Linked DNA regions of Homo sapiens: region 2 is linked to region 1. The links are contacts of gene promoters, found by promoter capture Hi-C in blood cells and fetal thymus (Javierre and others, 2016). All regions are on one chromosome and are shown on one strand. The core of a region is centred on a gene start or on the middle of the fragment in contact, and the rest is flanking DNA. Distances in the headings are between cores, read along the strand shown. Region 1 holds the start of NRXN2-AS1 (NRXN2 antisense RNA 1). Region 2 overlaps RPS6KA4 (ribosomal protein S6 kinase A4).

Region 1 (2,904 bases), core at 109-2,608:
CCCCGCCCCCGGGCCAACCGGGTGGCCGGCATCTACAGTGCCACTTACCGTGGCCGCCGCGGGTGAGGAAGGGCATGCGGTTGATGGCGATGGGCACGGTGCCGTGCTTGCTGTGGAAGTGGTGGACGTGGTGGGTGGTGCTGAGGCTGGAGGAGACCCGGGCCCCCTCGGCCGCCCCCAGCAGCAACAGCAGCAACAGCGGCAACAGCGGCAGCAGAGGTGGCGGCGGCGGCGGTGGAGGCGGCGGCAGGGGCCCAGCCAGGGCCGGGGGGCGGCGCGGGCACCCCCCCGGCCCGCTCCCCCCGGGGGGCATTTCGGCCCGGGGGCGACCGCCTCACAGCCCCATGGCCGGGGGCGGGGACGCGGGGCTGCGCAGCCCCGCGAAGCCCCCCTCCGGCTCCGAGCTCCGGGAGCGGGGTAGGGATGAAGCGGAGGTAAACCAGGGCCCAAGCCTCGGTCCGGAGCCAACAAAATCAACTGGATCCCGCCGGGAAATCGGGGGTCCGCGGAGCGGCAACGCCAAGGTCCAGGATGCCTGGGTCCATCGCGAGGAGCTAGGGGTCTCTCTGCATCCCGGCGGGGTCGGAGCGGCGCAGAGGGCCGTCAGAAACCCGGGGGAGCGCCCGGGGGAGGGGGCATGGTGCCGAGTGGAGAGGGAGGGGAGCGCGGGGGCCAAGCAGGGAGGGGAGAGCGAGGGAAATCCTGCGGAAAAACCGAGCTGGGGAGCGGGGCGGTGCGGGCTGGAGGAGAGAAGAGGGACGGAGACCTGGTTCCCCCGAAGGCGGGAGACCGACGGCGACTGGGGCCGGCCGCGCCGCTGCTGCCGCTGCCGCCCGACGGAGGCCGGGGGAAAGGAGGGAGCGGCCGGGGGAGGGGGGGGCGGGAGAAGGGGGAAGGGAAGCAAATCCGGGTGAGGGGGGAATGAAGGGATAGGAGAGGAGGGGATAGGAGAGGAGGGGAGCGGGGCTGAGCCGAGGAAAGGCGCGAGCCTGCGAGATTCCGGCGGAGAGATGGAGGCAGCGAAGTGTTGCTGCAGAGGCTGAGAGGGCTGGAAGGGAGAGGGAGGGAGGGAGAGAGGGAGAGAGGGAGAGAGGGAGGGAGGGAGGGAAGGAGGAGAGCGGAGAGGGGAGGGGAAGCGCGGGAGGAGGAGGGGGCAGGGCGGAGGGACCAGAGCGGCTCCCGATCTGCGGGCGGCGCTGGGCAGCTCAGCCGCGCGGCACCTGGCTAGCCCGCTCGGCGCTCTCCTCTCCTCTGCGCGCGCCCGCCCCTCCCCCGCGCCTGGACGCGCGCGCTCCTCCTGCACCCCCCTCCTGGAGAAGGGACCCTGCTGAATAATGGAACGGGATTGAGGCTAGCAAGAGAGGCCACTTTCTTCCTCCCCGCCCACCCCACCCGGATGAACCCCAATAATGCTCTCTGGCACAGCCTGCTGAGATGCCGCGGCGGCCACCTCTGCACCACCCCTCGCAACGCACGTGCACACTGAGATGTGTATCGGCTTGGGTATGGAAACATCCACGTGCCCATATGGGCACAGTGTGCGGGTAGGCACACAGGCTCAGACACATACATGCATGCATGTGCTCACAGACACTGGCACACCAACTTACTCTCAGGGGAGCATATACACATGCTCACAGGGCATACATCCGTGCACACACACGTTTGATCACAGGACATGAATGGCCAACATACACACAGACACCCCTGCTCCCCAAGCTCACCCTCCAAAATAGGGTCCACAGCATACAGTGCACCCAGAGCCTTCGAGGTACTCAGGAATAAGACATGCCACACACGTACAACTCCCCACCACCTCCCCAAAAAGCTGCTCCCCCAGCCCCCTGCACAAGCCTCTCCTGGACTCCTCCAATCCTTCCTCTCCACTACCACTGCCCCTCCCCCAGCCCCAACCTCTCCCTCCATGGGGGGTCTAGAGGACACCTGCCCACTGAGTGTCCCATTTAGGACAAAACCCTTCCTGGGCCACGTATGTCAAGCTGAGGAAACCACTTCTCCTTCAGGATGCCCTCCAATTGGGTTCTGTCCCCCAAACTTTTGGACGCTCTGGAAAGCACCTGTGGCCCCAGAGGTAAGCACAGAGAGACTCCTTTCCCGTCACCGGGTCGTATGCACCAACCTGCTCGGACAGGGGAGAGGGTGGGAAGGCAGAGGGTAGAGGAGGAGGGAAAGGAGGAGAGAGGTGGAGAGGGCACCTGGGGGAGCTGAAGAAACAGTGCAGCGGAGTGAGGAGGAGGGCTGGGTAAGGAAAGGACAGGAGGCAGGGGCGGGTGAAGTGAGAAAGGGGAGGGCTGGGAGAGAGGAGGCTGGGAGGGGCTGGAGAGAGCTGGCTCCTATTTATTGATTCTAAACTCCATTTGGGAGCAAAAACTGTCACCACGAGCCCCATGTGCCACCCCCAGCTCCAGGATGCAGTCAGGACCCAGGACATCTCCCCAATGCTGCTGCCAGTCCTCCATCCCTACTACATGCCAGAGCTGGATTTGGCCCCCAGGTCTTTAGAAGTGAAGAAAGCGGTCCTCAGAGGCACCCAGAGGAGGCTTCCGGTGGTGCAGGGCCCCGAGCCATGCAGTGCTGGAGGAGAGACTGCATGCCAGGAGCAGGGCTGGGGCCCCCAGAGGCCACGTCCTCCTGCCCTCTCTATCACGTTCTTGGGCCCCTGGATCTGGAATATAGACTGACACAGCTCTGAGCAGGCAGAAAATTTATGGTTCCACAGGGAGGGAGGGAGGAGCCGGTGGCGAGAGGAAAGGAAGGGAAACCGCCTAGAGGCCAATCAATACCAGTGAGTGGGAACTGGAGAGAGATGGGGGGGCCAAGGCTGAGAAGGGAGGGGGAGATATAGAGGGTAAAAAAGAAGGGAAAGACAGAGGTATGTAAGAG
Region 2 (2,988 bases), core at 349-2,848, 280 kb before region 1:
CTTGGCCTCCCAAAATCCTGGGATCACAGGCATGAGCCACCACGCCCGACCTTTTCACACCAATTCTATTAAAAGTTCCAGAACTGACTAAGTGTGGTGTCATGGTGGTTCTCTAAGGGGAATAGGGATTGTGTTACCAGAGGGAGAGAGAAGCCAGGGAGGCAGGAGGAACAGCTGCCCACCCCAAATGCCAGATGGGCCCTTGCCTCATGGAGGAACTGCCCAGTGAGGGTGGGCTGAGTGGAGGGAGTTTCTCGTTCCTGGCCTTTGACACCTGACCTCTGATTCCCTTCCCTCAGGGCCTCGATTGGGTGGCTCTGGCTGCCAGGAAGATTCCAGCCCCATTCCGGCCCCAAATCCGCTCAGAGCTGGATGTGGGCAACTTTGCGGAGGAATTCACTCGGCTGGAGCCTGTCTACTCACCCCCTGGCAGCCCCCCACCTGGGGACCCCCGAATCTTTCAGGTGAGGGGAAACTCATGGAACCCAGATGCAGGAGAGATGAGATGTTGCTGTCTGCCTCAGCCCTGGCTGGCCCGAGGACACTGCCTAGGCCTTGTGTCCTGATTGGGACTCAGCGTCTCCCCTAGACGTCGCCACTTCAGTGGGACCTAGGGTTGTCAGTCACAGAGACCACCCAGGCAGGATGTGTGTTTGATAGTTCATGGTTTATCTTTAAACCTTCTGTTAATTTCCCTTCTATTCCATCATCTCTTTATTGTTATGTAAAAATATTGTTTGAAATTATTCACTTGCGGCTGGGTGTGGTGGCTCACACCTGTAATCCCAGCACTTTGGGAGGCTGAGGCAGGTGGATCACTTGAGGTCAGGAGTTCGAGACCAGCCTGGCCAACATGGGGAAACCCCGTCTCTACTAAAAATACAAAAATTAGCTGGATGTGGTGGTATGCGCCTGTAATCCCAGCTACTCGGGAGGCTGAGGTGAGAGAATCCCTTGAACCTGGGAGGCGGAGGTTGCGGTGAGCAGAGATCACACCATTGCATTCCAGGTTGGGCGACTGAGTGAAACTCCGTCTCAAAAAAAAAAAAAAAGAGATCTTCACTTTCTCACGTGGACACCTAGGAGGAGATGCATGTTGATATTGTGGCTTTGCATGCCCTTGGCATAGCATGGTACACTCCTGGAGGGTCAGGTCCCCTCCACCGAATTTTTTTTTTTTTTTTTTTTGAGACGGAGTCTCACTCTGTCTCCAGGCTGGAGTGCAGTGGCTAGATCTTGGCTCACTGAAATCTCTGCCTCACGGGTTCAAGCAATTCTCCTGCCTTAGCCTCCTGAGTAGTTGGGACTACAGGCGTGCGCCACCACACCCAGCTAATTTTTGTATTTTCAGTAGAGATGGGGTTTCACCATGTTGGCCTGGATGGTCTCAATCTCTTGACCTTGTGGTCCGCCCACCTCGGCCTCCCAAAGTGCTGGGATTAGAGGCATGAGCCACCATGCCAAGCCCCCTCTACTGAATTTTAGAAGCTTACACCTTTTGGACAAGTCCAAACTCCCTTTGCTTGGGCATTGAGGCCCTTCATGATGTGGTCCTTGCTTAGAACCTTAGCCTCAGTTCTCATCATTTTCCTACTTGATGCTCTGGAGGGCATGATCGAACTGCTCAGAGGTTCCAGAATATACCTCTGTGCCTTTGCACTTGCTGCTCCTGCTACCTGGAGTACATTCTCTACAGCAGTCTACATGGCAAGCTTCTACCCCTCTTTTAGGCCTCCTTGTCTGCTCACCTGGCCCAGGGGGTCACCCTTTCTTTGTGCTGCAGTCCTCTGTGGACAGCATCTCCTTCTGTGCAGTTTATCATGTTGCCATAATGATATTATATCATTATCACTAAATAAACCAGTATGGTTTGTTTAATAGACAGACCAAGTATGGCTGGATAAGTCCCTTCTCTGAAGCTCTTAGAATTGACAACTCTGTGCTTGAATGTCCACATTCCATTCCATTGTCTCACAGCCCTCATGATAAAGTTCTTTCTCTTGAATTGGTAGGTACTTTCATTCATTCATTTAATGATTCAAAAATGTGTAGTGAGTGCCTAAAATATTCCAGGTACGGATCTGGGTACTACATTTTTAGGAGAAGATGACACATAGTTTATTTTTAAAATTATTTTTTAAAATTAATTAATTAATGTTTTAGAGACAGGATCTTGTTCTGTGGCCCAGGCTGGAGTGCAGTTGGGCAACCATGGCTCACTGCAATCTTGAACTCCTGGGCTTGAGTGATCCTCCCACCTCAGCCTGCCCAATAGCTAGGACTACAGGCAAGTGCCACCACTCCCAGATAATTAATTTTTTTTTTTGAGACGCAGTTTCGCTCTTGTTGCCCAGGCTAGAGTGCAATGGCATGATATCGGCTCACCGCAACCTCTGCCTCCCGGGTTCAAGCGATTCTCGTGCCTCAGCCTCCCGAGTAGCTGGGATTACAGGCATGTGCCACCACGCCTGGCTAATTTTTGTATTATTAGTAGAGATGGGGTTTCTCCATGTTGGTCAGGCTGGTCTCAAACTCCTGACCTCAGGTGATCTACCTGCCTCAGCCTCCCAAAGTACTGGGATTACAGGCGCAAGCCACCGTGCCTGGCCACAACACGCAATTAAAATGACCCTTAAAAGCTCCTCAAATTGCCAGGACATGGATCTTTAGGAAAAGCAAAGAATTAACTCTGCCTTCTTTTTGCATTTCTTCAGTAGCTCCCCTTGCAGAAGAAGCCAAAGTCCGGCTTGAAAGGGAGGAATAAGTTTTTTTTCCTCAGCGGATAGAGTTGGATTCTCATAAGCTAAGCGTGAACTCAGGCCACACTTTCAATATATTCATTGGTCCTTTCAGTGCCTTCAGCCCTTGGCACCTGGGGAGGAATAAGTGGTCACTCTGATGAGAAAGTTGGGGTCACAGGCTGGTGGGGACAGACATGGCCCCAAGTGATTATAAAACCAGGTGGAATAAAAAGTGTCCACACATCCT

The links. Contacts are between HindIII fragments. The CHiCAGO score rates a contact against its expected background, and 5 or more counts as called.
Region 2: a contact is called between a fragment that was not itself captured here and the fragment with the promoter of NRXN2-AS1 in region 1, in 5 of 17 cell types (M0 macrophages, naive B cells, M1 macrophages and 2 more). The highest score is 7.4, in M0 macrophages.

Annotation. Positions count from the first base shown.
Region 1 is chr11:64,642,491-64,645,394 of GRCh38, forward strand. It overlaps NRXN2-AS1 (NRXN2 antisense RNA 1), which reads left to right and starts at 1,359. Exons shown (of 3, transcript XR_001748259.3): 1 at 1,359-2,092. The region is part of intron 17 of NRXN2 (neurexin 2); the gene reads right to left. The HindIII fragment of the contact is 13,173 bases long and covers 1-2,904 here.
Region 2 is chr11:64,365,002-64,367,989 of GRCh38, forward strand. RPS6KA4 (ribosomal protein S6 kinase A4) reads left to right here. Exons shown (of 17, transcript NM_003942.3): 9 at 300-464. Among named protein-coding and RNA genes, the nearest start is that of MIR1237, 2.1 kb to the right of the region's middle. The HindIII fragment of the contact is 224 bases long and covers 1,487-1,710 here.